Regions from separate parts of the Homo sapiens genome. Here region 2 is linked to region 1. The links are contacts of gene promoters, found by promoter capture Hi-C in blood cells and fetal thymus (Javierre and others, 2016). All regions are on one chromosome and are shown on one strand. The core of a region is centred on a gene start or on the middle of the fragment in contact, and the rest is flanking DNA. Distances in the headings are between cores, read along the strand shown.

Region 1 (7,427 bases), core at 1,906-4,405:
CACCTTGTACTCCCAGGCAACATCCTCCATTGGCACAACACTGTGGGCCTCATGCTCTGGGGACTGGCTGCAGGCCTCACACATTATCAAGACATCCTCTTTGCAGAACATCTTCAGCTTTTCCCCATGGCGCTCACACAGGTCACCCTTCAGCCCCATTCCTGGATGTAGCCTTAGCAGACGGACTTTTTCTACAACATTGGCCAGCTGCCAATTAGGCCGCAGGTTCCTTGGCTGGACAGGAGCTCGACAGAGGGGACAGGTGTAACCCCAGTTCTGGGATTCTCCTGGGATCTCCCAGAGTCCAGAGAGACAGCTGTGGCAGAAGCTGTGGCCACAGTCAATGCTCATGGGCTCCCTCAGGAAGGTCATACAGATGGGACAGGCCACTTCTTCCACAATGGCTTCCACCAAGGCTGTGGGATCCATGGTTCCTTCTCACACCCTCCTCAGAACATGAATGAAACCAGGGAGAAGTAGTAAAGGCTGAGAAGAAGAAAAGAAAGACAAATAAGAGAAAAAGGTAACAGAGGAACAGAGAGATCAGTAACAGGAATAATTAATTTCTGGGGGAAAACCACCTTCCTTTTGACCCTTTACTGACCTTCTTTAATAAGCATTGGCCTTTCCAACTGAAGGGTGCATGGTCTGAACGGGCCACATTACTCATACCATGAAGGGGATAATGGGGATGCCTAAGTGAGTGAATATTGGGAGTCCTCGGTTTTCATTCACTTGGTCAACTCTGATTTTCCTCTGGGTTTGCTCTACTTGACCATTACCACTCCAATCATGCTCTACAAATCAGCATTATTTCTCTTAAACTTGGGTAAGTTCACATAAAATGTGGTATTTCAGTATCTGAAGTAAGGCCATAAATACCTCCAGCCTCACTCTCTGGTATGTTTATATTTACATTAATATAATTCAAAGTGTCAAAAGGTAGTATGCCAGAAGCCCATTGCCTACAAGCTCAATTTGTTTTCTTGTGTTGCACACTAAAATGCAAAAACTGTAAAGGAAACAGCAGTTCTTTTCCTGTGCCTTTTAAACCCCTGCCCACTGCTCCAGCACTAATGTACTTATTATTCACCAAGATGTCAAGGTAGTCTTCTGAGCTTTTAGTGATATGCTAGAAGCAGAGATGAAATAACATCCCTTGGAGATTAAAACAAAGATCATTTGATGATCATCACACCCATATTGATGAAATCACTACACCAGCAAGAAATCTGAGATTTTTGCCAGGGCCACATATGGGCATGGAACTTGGTCAATGGCAGGCTCTTGGCTCAGTTGGCAATATTTATTCATTCACTTTGCTAGTTTGTGTTACCAGCTAGAATCTATACAAGGAAGGGACATGTTGATCCTAGTTCCTGTTGTATCCTCAGCACCTAAACAGCACCTGCAATGCAGATATTGCTGAGTAAATATTTGTTGAATGAATTAACCAGCTAGACATAGGAAATAGTTCCTAAACCCAAAATCCTTTTAGCATTTGTGAGGTAAATTGAGAGCATACATTAATAATAAAAGCAAGCACTCTTTGAGCAGTTCTATGATGTGCCAGGCACTGTTCTGAGCACTTTACATGAATTAAGTTGGTTTATTTCACAACCCTAGGCAGAGGCCATTATTGTTCTCATTTTACAGATGTTTGGCTTGGGGCTCTGCCATCTATCTTGGGCAAATTTCTTAACCTCTTTAGCTTTAAGGTATAATACAAATTCAAGAGGAGAGAAAAATCACTGTGGTTTAGCGCAGTCCAGTAGCAGGAAGCAGGAAGCAGAGCAGTAAATCTTGCAGGACTCTGATATGCCATTGGCAGGGCATGCCTTCTCACTAGACTCCCTGCCTCCTGCTTTTCTTCCTCCCACTATCACTACCAAACTGTGGGATCCAGTATCCTAAAACCTCATTTTGGTAAATCACTAACTTACTAAATAATCTATCCTGGCTCCCGGTTAACAAGATCTCTCCTTGAAACAGCACCTGTGCCCAGCTAGGCAAAGGAATAAACTTCCACACACTCCCGCAAACCCCTCGTCCATTCAATCTACCTGACTTGGGTGCCTGCTATTCTCCCAGCTGAAAATGACTTCTACATGATCCTGCCTTTGACGTCATTTGCCATGTATTCGTCTATTGTCTTACTTCCCATACTAGAACTTTTTCATGTGGATAGGGTCATTGTCTGTTTTGTCCATTTCTATTTCCCCAGTGCCAAGAACAGTGCCTCAAATACTTGTTGAATACGTGAAAACTAAATGTAAATGTTGAGTTCCAACCGATAGTAGATTGAAAGTGGAGGATGTGTTAATATCCTTAGCTAAGTCAGTAGAGACATTAAGAGACACCATCTAAAGTCAATAAAACAATAAATGGAAGTTGATACCCATTATTTAAAGCTACAAATGGAAGACCTAAAATAGCGATGGAAAATTGACAAGATTGTGGCAGTAAGAAAGTAAGGCAAAGAAATATCAAAATGATAAATCCAGAAATACAGTGGAACGCATATTATTTTGATTTAGGGTGCTAAAAACATCTAAATGGGGACAAACTAAAAGTGGCAGCCTCTGCAAAGATCTGGGGATGGGTAGTTACTGCTCTTCAAAATAAGACCTGCTTTAATGTTTGACTTTTTATTATACATGAATTACTTTGAGAAAATTCAAATAATTAAACGTTCGGTTGCTTTGACTGTGCCTTCCGTAGGGTACAGCGAGAGTCTGAGAAGGGCATTTGAGAAGGGGGCGGGGCCTGGAAGACTTCCAGTTAGGACCCCAGCGGGAAGGGAGTCGAGGGGCGGGCGGTAACCTCCGGAGTCAGGGAGCAGCTCCTGGCCTGGCCACAGGGCGTTGGGCAGGTCCCCAGGACAGCGGGCGGGTGGGGGTAAAGTGAGCGTGCGGGATCTGACTTCAGAAAAGGCAGAGTTATCTACCCACCTCCCTCCTCGGCCCGGACTGGCGCTTCGCGGCGGAAACTCAAAGTGAAGAAGCCTGGTTCCGCAGCGTCCAATGGCCCAGCGTCAGAAGCTGCCGTTCCCGGCAGCTCAGCACTTAGGGCCAGAGAGCGGCAGAGGCCCAGAACCCAAAGCCCGGCAGCGCAGGCCCAGTAGCCCGCAGCTCCCAGAATACTACACCCGGCTCTAGGCCCCGCTCGCGGGACGGCAGCCAATGAGCGGCCGGCTGGGCCCAGGTTGGCTTCGCCCAGGGGGCGGTGTGTTTGTGGGGGCAGCCAATCACAGGCAGGGACCAGGGTACCCCTAGCCAATTGGTGATGAGACGGGGGTTTCGGCGCTTCTAGGCATGTCAATGTTTTTTCTCTACTTCCTGGGTTTTTCTGGTCCCTTCACCGACTCAGATTCCCTTAAACTGTAGAGGGTTCTAGGAGTTAGTTCTAGGATAGGTCAAAGGATTGAGGCTCCCAAATGATGCCGCTCAGGCACTGCATTAAGAGAGGCTCAGGTGGCTATTCATTTGCCAGTTTGACTTGTTAAACTCAGAAGCCTGAGATTGGCCAAGTCTGGTTCTGTGACCCATCTTAGCAAAGGGTTGGGCGCACATATGGTGTGGACTCTGCTGTTCCTGGCAAGATTCGCGACCTCTCATGGTTCCAGGCTTTAAATACTGGGTTCTTAAACAAAACAAAACAAAACAAAACAAAACCCTCTCTTTTTTCGTTTTTACTTCAGCAACCAGCTTGTCATCACTATTGCCACAATCCACTTTTAGAGTGAAAAACAGACAACAGAGACCGGGAGTTGATGGAGAAATGGAAACCCTGGTCAAAAATTGTCATTAAAAAAGGAAAAAAAAATTAAACAACTGGTATCCCTTCCTCACCCAAACACATAGACACATGCACGCACACACAAAAACTGTTACTTAAGACAGTGATATGGGTTTTTCTTTGTACTCCCAGGGCCTTGTCCTTCTCTTGACACTTAGGTTTTAATAAGCAAGTGAAGGCACCTCCTATCCGCATAGAAAATAACCAGGAAATCTTCCAATTGAAGCTCGGTTCCAAATTATATAATATCTTAATTGTTAGGACAGATACTCCAGAATGCTCATGCCAGTGTCTGAGCCCCGGCCATGGTTAAAATTCTGAAGGGTGAGGCCCAGAAATTTCCTGCAACAAATAGGTCTATGAGAAAAAACAAAAGTATCTTAGGTCTGAGCTGTACCCTCTGTCTCACCCAGTTTTGGAGAAATGGCTGCTCTAATAGAATAATGAATGGATTAATTGAAATAAGCCATTTTAAACATTTATTTAACATCAATTTTCTTGACAATATTTTACTGGGTGCTGGGATTACAACTATGGGACATATAGTCTCTGCCTTTAAGGAGCTGAAGGTCAAGTTGGTTGTACTGCTCTGGAATCTCTGTGAAGTTAAAACAGTTAATGGGGAGATCATTTTCATGTGTAAGGTGCAATTTGTAACTATGACGGACTGTCAAGAACCCTGGCAATCAGGGTAGCTGGGGGTGGGGGCTTGCGTTCATGTGGGGAAGGCTGGAGAGAGGGCTTTTGAAGACAGACCAGTTTACTTCCAAGGCATAGAAGCTTTCCTTTACAGATGTCTTCAGAATGTTTTGTTTGTTTCTTTATTTGTTTGCTGTGAGACAGGTGTGTCCAGGTGAGGCTCTGTCGTGGACAAATTCCACAGCTGTAGCTGCAGACCCCAACCCTCTGCCCTGAATCCAGGATAGACCAGGACAACAAGATGAGTGGCTAACTGTAGGATGGTGTCCATCTGTGCTCTAGGGGAGGAGTAGCATCAAAGGAGAAGCAAGAACTGAGAACTGTTTGGGGCACTGAAGAAGTAGGACTAAGGAAGAGTTAGGGGGTTAGTACAAATCTGAGGCCTGGTTTTCTGGAAAGAGACCAGAGACTGACCTTATTGCATGTCATACAACATGCTTGCTTAGAGACCCCTAATTTATTTTCTTCTCTTACTCTTTCTGAGGAAGCATGAGCCACACCCTCAGTTAGTTTTGTATAATCTTAGGCTTGATGAGAATATAATCTTAGTCTTGAAGGCTTTAAAGGGGAAGAAATAGCTGTCTGTGTTAGTGGTGTGTCAGTCAGCAGGAGAACCTGCTAGGGGTGGAAGGAGGAGGGTAGGAGTATAGCCTAGACCATGAGTAGATACCCCGCTCCACCTTGAAAGTCTCCTACTGGACCTCTTATGATGGAGTTAATACCTCCTGTTTCCTCTATTCCAGATTGTTTTCAGTTTCCAGAAGGCAAAACTGACATCTCCCAGGAGTCCAAGTAGGAGATTAGGGCCTCCCGTCCCTATCTACTCAGTGCTAGCCTTGGCTAAGAGAGAGGAAATTCCTGCCTAGAGGGGAAAATCTGCAGGACTTCGTTACCACTTTCACTTTGGCAGAGGAAGGAGGTCAGGGATGGAAGGGGAAGTGAGTCTAGAAATTAAAACATAGAATTCTGTCTACAGGTGGTGGAGAGCCTTTCTGAAAGTGCTTCTGGGTTGAGGCTGTCACCTAGATTTTATATTAGAGTTTAAGTGTTCCAAAAAATTAAGAAGCAGGAAGTAGAAAAGAGAGAACAATTTCAGAAGCAGACGAAAGGAACAGTAATAGGAAGATCTAGCAAGGATGTGGTGGGGCAGTTTCAGTGTGAGATGCCATGGACAGGAAAATGGCAGCATATGTGTGTGTGTGTGTGTGTGTGTGTGTGCATGAGACAGAGAGACATAAATAACTAAATAAAAAGGTATATATCAGAATATAGATGTATATTACAATAGCAATTGTTAATAGTGACACACAACTAACAGTAAGACTTTTGTACAGTGGGAAGCAGAACAAGCCAAATGCTGTTATTAGTTTTGATATCAGAGTTGCATTAGATTAAAACAAGAAGAAGTAGCTTTATATGTCCTTGTATTTGATGTCTAATTCAAGTTCTTTAAATGTCGAATCTGTTTCAGTAAGTTACTATTCTCAAAGTATCAGTGTCTCCATGGTTATGAACAATTACACAAATAATTATTTTTATTTTTATTTGCCATTACTTTGAGTTTTTTTCTTGATTCTAATCCCTGATATTATATATTTACCACTACTTTATGTTTTTTTTTCTGAGTGACATATCTTTCTTTCCAAAGATCTGTCTAATTGATTGTTCCTTTCAAAGAACCTGTTAATTTGTTATTTCAATTTTTTTCTGATTTTATCTTTATTATTTTTTCTTGATTTATTTTACTTATATTTATTGTCTTATTTTTCTTGCTTCTTGCATTGATTGAGGAGTGTAAAGTTTTCCCTAAATATAAGTCAGGCTATATACCATAAATCATCTTGGTGCTTTCGTTATCATTTGTTATTAAAAAAATTATTAAGCACAGTTTCAAATTTGCTTTTCTCTTGAAATTACTTAATTAAATTGAAATTCTCTCTCTATATATATAATTTATTTAGGTTTGTTAGCATTTTATAACCACAATGCAATAAGAGTTTAAAAAATGCCATTATAACTTATCATTTGGGAAACTGTTTTGTGGCCAACTATATAATTGCATTATATAATTGTTCAGAAGGTACTGGAAGAGAAGGCATATTCTCTATAGTGGAAAATACTAAATTATATAGTCTTCTTATCAGAGTGTAAAATGTGTTTGTAGGGATTTGGCCTAACTCATTGCCACGTGAATAGCAGACAACTGAGAGAAGAGCCAGTCAATCAAAATGCCTACTAAAAACAAGAGTTGAAAATGCCAGAAACCTATTTTAAGCATAAAAAGGACTTATTAAAGAACATTTGGTAGTCCATTGATGATGTATGCAGGAACATCATCAAATTACCCCATAGGTCCACTCTGATGGAACTACCACTACTGGCTCCATTGAGCATAGTCAACTAGGATCTCACTCCTAAACCTGGGTGCAGAGACTGACACTAGAATCTCTGCCTCTGATATCTCTGGAAGATTTACTCTTCTGTCAGCACTCTTCACCAGAATGATTCAATGTGGCATTTTGCTTTTATTTTCCTAGCTTCTGAATTGGCTTCCTGGAGGTGTGCATGATTGACAGCACTTAGACAAAATGCCTTCTCCCATGGTGGGTGATTATTCCCATCTATTTTCTCCCTTTTTGTGAGGGGGACATACAATCTCATCCATTGCCTCATGACTCACAGTGCTTCCCGATAGCTGGAGAATGCTTTCTAGGACATTATGAGACTTGGCTATATGACCATCTTGGGTCGTTGAAATAGGAATGGAGGGAAGTGTTTCAGTTCCATAGAGAAGCTCTAAGAGACATTTCATGTTTGTACCACCTTTTGTTGTTTTCTCATTGTCACAATAAAGGCATATCACAAAGAGGGGCTCCTGCTTCAGCTTGAGTCCTGGATGCAAAGACATGTGGACTGGGATCCTAGCAACC
Region 2 (7,427 bases), core at 3,464-5,963, 1.2 Mb after region 1:
TCTTATCTCACTCTTTCCCTGAGTTCTGTCTCTTTCAAATTAATGACAAATGTGCTTTCCCTTAAATTAAAAAAAACTATAGATATAGCTTGTTGTTGGGTATAAAAATATTCTGGGAATAAATGCTCGGTGCCACAAAGTGAAACCCGCACTCAGGCAAAAGTTATCTTAGCAAGGCAATTTACTTCTGCAGAAGGGTGCCACTCACATCAATCAAGATCACAAGAGCACAGGGAACAAAGGAGAGCAGCGAAGTTCTCTCTCTAATGGTAGTTTCTACTTCTGTGTCACTCCCCCATGGGCCGGGGTCAGACCGCACAGTCTGAGCTAACCTGATTTGTTACTTGCAGATATCTTTCTAAATATGGAAGGGAAGGGGGACTTGAGGTACAGTGGTGAGGCCTGTGAGATGTGCAGTTTCGGGGGAACAGTGGGTGCAGATAACTAAGGGAACAGACGTGAGTTATTGATTAGAGCTGATGGGAAGCAGGTAGGCTGTTTTACAGTAACTAGGGACAAGGGGGAACAGGAAAGTTGAGTTTGAGAACAAAAGACAAGGAAGTTAGCAGGCTAAATCTTTGAAGAGGAACTCAGAGAAATTCATTGTATCTTACAATTCCCCCCTTTTAATTTTCTTATGATTCTTTCTCTTCAAACGTTTTTAACATGTCTTGGCTTTGCCATTCGATTTGATCTTCTAAAAGGAAAAGCTTACTTGAATAAGGTGGAGGAGAACTAAGGGAGGCTTTAGTAAGTGCTGTTTGTACAGTCCTTTGTATTAGCCTATGGATGCGTGGTATGACATAACACCTAACAAGAAAGAGTACACTTATTACAATTGCAAGAGAAATAAGAATTAAGGCTATGATTCTTTTCCGTTTACTGAACTACTTTCTTAGCCATCCTGAAATAGGGTCAGTGACTAGAATTTTTAGCTAGTTTATTGGATAAAGTGGTAAGTCTTTGTAAGGCCTTTTTTATGCTCCTATCGGGGGCAGTGTTGTTTGGGATTAAGGTAAAACATTGGGTTTTAATCATAACACAAACCTCACCTTTTTGGCTAATAACATGTCTAGTGCTATTCTGTTTTCTTAAGCTCTTTGGTTAGTAGGCTTTAATTGGTCAGCTATTCCTTTGATGGCATCCCTGGTGTAATTAATAAACTGCTGCTGATTATAATGGATGTAATTTATCTAAGCTACATTTTTATTAATAGTTACTTGTGGAAATATGGATTCAAATTCTGCAGCTATTTGGTCTCGGGCTTTGAACCTGTCAGGCACTCCTCGTGGGACACTAATGGCATCTATGTAAACTTGAGAGTTAAAAGACTTATAAGGGGCTTCTCTTATTTTTCAGTGTTGTGGTTTTTCTTTTTCTGGTTGATGAAATTCTACAGTGAAAGGGATAGCCAACTGGACAAAAGCACAAGTGCCGCTCCCATTACTTGGCAGAGTGTCCGTTAAGGGTGTACTGCAACACCACCATCTATCCTCTGAAGGATGACTAAGGGCAGACTGATGGGTAAGCTCTTGGAAGGGCCTAAGCTTGCTGCAACGTGTTAAGCTTCCAAGGAATGCCAAGTTCTCCCCATGTTGTGAGAGACATGAGGTGAAATTGACGTCAGGAGGTGGAAGCTGAATGGCCCTCGGGGGCTGACCTCCAGGGTGTTGGACTTCAGGATATAGCAGAGAGAGAGCTTGGCATGATTTGTTGCCTTAGGCTGTGGAATCTTGGAAAACAGCTACTATACAGCCCATGTCTGGTCGACTGAGGGACTATCCTAGCGGAAAGGAGACAATCTGGGCCTCTGGTCTGCTGTGCACACAAGAATAACAATTGCTTTTATTCAAAGTGCGGACAGAATATTGAATCCATCCCAACTAAGCATTTATATCTTGATACCTTGTTTCAATTGCTAGAGTTTGTCTTAGATCCTTCACTTCTACAATATTTACTTTGGCATTGTTGTTGGGCAGGGTAGAAAGTTTAGAAGGTGAAGGAGGGTCAATAAAGCGTATTTTAAAGAGGCCTACAGGGTCGTATCCATTGGCCTCTGCCCCTAAGCCGTAAAAGCCTTCTAAAGGAAGCGTATGGTTGGTAGAGGTAGCAGCATTAATAGAGATAGTTACTGGGTTACAATGGTAAAGTTGGCAATTAGAGGGGGTGGTTCATTTGGTAAGGAGGAGGTAAGATTTTAGGTTGGTACAGCCTTCTGGGGAGGTCTCGCCGTGTTCATTGGCAGTCAGGATGACATCTGCTCATTGAGAACGTATCTCCTAACTTAAGGTGCCTTGGTACCCCCACCATGAGCAAGGTGTGAGGTCAGTGGTTTCTCTGAAGGGGCAGAGGTGTTTTTCTAAAGGAGAGACATACCTTTGCCATTGTTCGTCCTCTTCACAAGGCATAACAAGGCAAGCCTCAAAGGTAATGATTTGGGATGAGTCTGACTTAGTTACATTGATAATAAGGTCAGCAATAGAATGAGGAAAGAAGAAAGGGTAATAGAATAGATAAAAGAGAGTTAAACTTTCCTTAACTTTAGTTTGAGGGGTTTTTTCCCTTGAATAATGGTCCATGACTTTGGGGATGGTGGTGCTTTCTTGACTCGGGTATGATGGGTCCATCTTTTCTTGCTGTTTGGACTGCAGTTTCAGTGGTTTGAAGCACTAGGCCAGCTCCTCAGGCTGGTGTCAATATACTGGGAACTTTAGGGGTGGCACCTGTACCGGAAAATTTTGAGTTCTGAGGGAAGAGAAAGTGGAAGATAAACCAAGTATGTAGGAATGTTGGCAGTAGATTGTTTTGGGAGGTAGTTTGGACTTACTAGGGTAATAGGAAGATAGAAGACATTTCATCTATGGCAACCAAGTCTCTAGACTTGTTTGGCTAAGGGTATAAATTCCTAAACACATATAAACTTTGACTGTGTTATACATCGCTTGGGGTCTTTAATGGGTAATGTTTTTCTGAGTTCCCTTTAGTGCCTACAGGAGAAACAGCAGCCTGTTCGGCTTATCTGATTTGCTAGGTTATTTTAAAAGACAGGCTTTTCTGGTGCTTGGGGACATGGACAATAGATACTTGGGTGATTAACTCCTCATGAACAAGGCTTTGACTTTTACTATTAATCCAGTCTGAAATTTGCTAAATGTATTAGCCACTGTAAAGGCATATTTAGAATTAGTACAGATGGTTCTTTCCTGGTCCTGCAGGTAATTTAAAGCTTGACTAAGTGCAGACAGCTTATAAATTTCTCTAGGAACTTCTTTATTAATTACTGAACACCTGTTGCGTTCTTTTTCCCTTAATCATTCCTGAAGAGGGTTTCTTCTAAGTTTGGCCGAACGTTTGTAATCAGTTAAATCTAAACACGTGTGCTTTCTTTTTAGCTTTGGATATCTCATTAAGAAACTTGCTAGATTAAGCGAATTATCAGTCATTAATGTTAAACTATACTTTTAAACTCGTACTTATACACATGTAATACTTTTCTGGTGGTACATTTTAATATAAGTGACTTTAAATAATCAAAGTCTTTTCTGGTGGATATTTTCACTTTTAATACTGGCCTGACCCATAATAAATGCTAGCGGATATATCAGCTGAAAGATTATCTACTACTTGTTCAGGAAACTTAGCCGCGGGGATGCCTAGCTGCTTGGAGCCGCATCTGAAGCCTGTATTACTTGACCCTGGCAAAAGTAAGGCATATGTCCCATAATGTAGTCTGCTTAGGCATAGGCTGCGGCAGAGCATGGGCTTTTTCTGCTGTGGGGGCGCACTAGAGGCTGCACGACAACGACAACATGTTGAGGCAGATCCTTGATGTCGCTAGCCTGTCAAAAGCCACCTGGCGAATGAGGAGCTTGGATTCCTTTCACAGAGGAGGACTTAGGCTGGGCCTGAGGGGAAGGGTTGGGGGTATTAGATGGGGGACTAGGGGCATTAGGTAAAGGATGGTCCAGGGAATCCTATGTGCTGTTTTCTTTGCTAGGATCCTCTGAGAACCCTCCTTCACTGTCTCCACAGTAGGGGCAGGTGCATAAGGGAAAGGGAGGACAGGTCTTTGCCTCCAAAAAAGAGCATAGTCCAGTTCTTCTTGAGAAACTGGGCTTTTATTATTTACATGTTAAACTGAAAGTTGACATAGTATATCCTCAGTTGACCCAAACTTTGGCCAGAAGATTGACGGATTGAGGTTAGGTCTTTGAGTCCAAATAGAAAAGCAATATTTTATCATTTGTTGCTTTTTCTTATGTTTAGTTCTTTCATTATCTTCCCAACATTTTAGCATGAGACTTAGGGGACTATCAGGTGGTATATCTTTGTTACTATTCATATCCTTTTTCATGAGACTTAGGGGACTATCAGGTGGTATATATCTTTGTTACTATTCTTACCATTTTTGCTTGTAATATTTCCCATATTGGGTCTTGGCTAGGCGCAATCTCTCATATTAGGAATTTCTTGCCTAACGGGGCATTGCTGTGGCTCAACCCCATCATATTAGGGATTTCTCGCCTATTTGGCGAGGGATTCCTTGTGGCTCAACCCCTTGTGTTAGGGGACCTCTTGCCTATCCTTCACTGGAATCGTAACTGAGGCTCAATTCGCCTATCCTTTAGCCCCACCTGCTGGAGGCTCTTTGCATCCTTTCGCTTTGTCCACTCTGGCCGCTTCCCTCGTGGGAATATTTCAGGTTCCTCTTAGCCTTGATGGCGGGTCAGCATAAACCCCTGATGGGACCCCCATATGAGGTGACCACAGAACCACAGATTGGACTCATTCATTCTGCGCAGCAGGAGCGCTTGCTACCATTCACGCACTTTCAACCTCCAGAATGCCCCGACCCACGGCCCCCAACCACCAAGGAAGTACTTTGTCGCCCCTGTGACGTTTCCTACCTTGATCTGTGCACAGAGTTTACCTGGTCACCGCGGTATTGCAAGCCTCTCCTCCTCGCGTTGCTGAGAGTCCGAGTTTATTCATCACAATGGGTGGGTCCCGATCTCCCCTCCCTGAGACTACCGCAACGGGGCATTGGAATGCGTCTCCCCTGGGTAGGATGACTGAAGATCCCTTTCTGAAGGAGAGTGGGGATCCCAGATGAGCCCCCAGAGTTGTTGGGTGTAAAAATGCTCTAGGAATAAATGCTCAGTGCCGCAAAGTGAAACCAACACTTAGGCAAAAGTTCTCTTAGCAAGGCAATTTACTTCTGTAGAAGGGTGCCACTCGCATCAATCAAGATCACAAGAGCACAGGGAAGGAAGGAGAGCAGGGAGCTTTTATCTCTGACAGTTTCTACTTCTGTGTCACTCCCCCATGGGCTGGGGTCCCCCATGGGCTGTGTCACTCCCCCATGGGCTGAGCTGACCAGATTGGCTACTTGCAAATATCTTTCTAAATATGGAAGGGAAGGGGAACACGGGGTACAGTGGTGAGGCATGTGAGATGTGCAGTTTCCGGGGAACAATGAGTCCAGGTAACTACGGGAACAGATGTGAGTTATTGATTAGAGCTGATGGGAAGCGGTAGGCTGTTTTACAGTAACTAAGGAAAAGGAAAGTTGAGTTTGAGAACAAAAGACCAGGAAGTTAGCGGCTAAATCTTTGAAGAGGAACTCAGAGAAAATTATTGTATCTTACATTGTCTTTCAAAAAAAAAAAAAAAGTAAAGCTATTTTCAAAGCAGTTCTATAAAAAAGCTGAAAAATGATTACCATTGCCCAAGGATAGTTTCACTATTCTGTGGGCTAATTAAAGACAAGAAATTTAAATGTGTCCCAGAGATTCTGGCACATTGTGTCTTTGTTCTCATTGATTTCAAAGAACATCTTTATTTCTGCCTTCCTTTTGTTATTTACCCAGTAGTCATGCAGGAGAGGCTATCACAATCTGAATTTAGTACAAGAAGATACTGTATTATGAGAAAGAACAAATAGCAGTAAGTTTAAGGAAAGGAAGAGAGATTTGGGAAAACGGTATAATTAATTATTCTACACTTATTACTTCAAGTATAAGGACTTCATTTAGAACAACATTCTTCTTGTCATAACTCATTCCTCTGAGTGGGAGAAGCATCAGATATCAGTGAGCTATGGGTGAGCTATATGCTGAGCCTTGACGCTTCACAGAAGTCAATCTCCCTGCCTGAATAGGCCACGCATTCTGGTCTGTCCACATTAGCAAAGTCAGTGGCCAAGCTTTCCGAAAGAGACTTGTATGTGTCTATGCTAGGGACTGGATGAGCAAGCTAGTCTAAATCAGAGGCAAGGCAGAACAAGGTATTTTGCCTGAAAAATCTAAAGCCTCATTTTCCCAGATGTATATCATAAAATTGTTGACATTCTCTGTCAACTCCTTGTCTCCTGTGTGTCTCAGCTCTGAACTGAGGAGGAAAGTACAAGGTTGTATTAAGAGGCCCTCAAAAATCCCAAAACATTTTAAAATGGAATTATGATGGAAAGATAAATAAATAAGGTAGGGGAAAAGTCAAATGAAGCAAAAACGCAAAGGAATGTGTTATAAGTATGAGATGTAATGTCACAAATTACAAATACCAGAAAAGACTTTCAGAAGGAACAAATGCTCAAGGTGGTACAGAAGATAAGCTGGTGTTAACATTGTGGAAGGGGGATGGGAGGTAAGAACTGTTTAAGGAAGAGGAAATGGCCGGCATGGAGGTTTTGAGGAATGAATGTGCCACACATGAAGGGACTGAAAACAAGATTAAGTGGGCTCAAATCAGGGGCCAGTTCTATCTGAGTTTATAGTACACAATCTTTTTTTTTAACCTAATATGTTACCTTTTTGTTGTTTTGTTATTGTTGTTTTGCTTCATACTAAACCTAGAGCCCTATGCCTATGATGTCAGGTAATTTCATAGAGTCATTTTTGGGTTTATGGTAAGAACAAGAGAGACAATGAAAAGGTTTAAGAAGATGAATGATAAAAGCTTTCTACTTGGAGATAAAAATTTTTTTATTGTAATACAGAAAGTTGAGAAAATAATTTTTGAAAAAACTATTGGCAAAAGTGGCTAAACACAAAATATATTAAAATATTTATAAAATATGATATATAAATATAATTTAAACTTTGGCCACCTGTTTTATTCTTGATATGTAAGATTTAATATAAAAATGAAATTCAAAAGCTAAGAGAGTGTATTACTACCAGACCTGCCTTACAAGAAATGCTAAAGCTGAAAAAACAGGATGCTGATTAGTGACATGAAAACGTATGAAAGAATAAAAGTCACTGGCAAAAGTAAGTACATAGTGAAACTCTGAATAATACTGTTATGGTGGTATATAAATCACCTATATCATTAATATGAATGTTAAAAGACAAAATTAATTTAAAAAATAGACAGCTACAATAGTTTGTTAAGGGATATACAATATAAAAAGAAGTAAATGTGAC

What was found. The method cuts DNA at HindIII sites, captures the fragments that hold promoters and counts their contacts. A CHiCAGO score of 5 or more calls a contact.
Region 2: a fragment that was not itself captured here is called in contact with the fragment with the promoter of TRIM68 in region 1 in 1 of 17 cell types (naive CD8 T cells); the score reaches 5.4 in naive CD8 T cells.

Annotation. Positions count from the first base shown.
Region 1 is chr11:4,605,076-4,612,502 of GRCh38, forward strand. TRIM68 (tripartite motif containing 68) reads right to left here and starts at 3,156. Exons shown (of 7, transcript NM_018073.8): 1 at 2,952-3,156; 2 at 4-486. The coding sequence starts at 429. RefSeq lists silencers at 2,721-2,800, 3,111-3,320. The HindIII fragment of the contact is 6,370 bases long and covers 1-4,576 here.
Region 2 is chr11:5,803,992-5,811,418 of GRCh38, forward strand. OR52N2 (olfactory receptor family 52 subfamily N member 2) reads left to right here and starts at 4,933. Exons shown (of 2, transcript NM_001005174.3): 1 at 4,933-5,063. The HindIII fragment of the contact is 2,979 bases long and covers 3,225-6,203 here.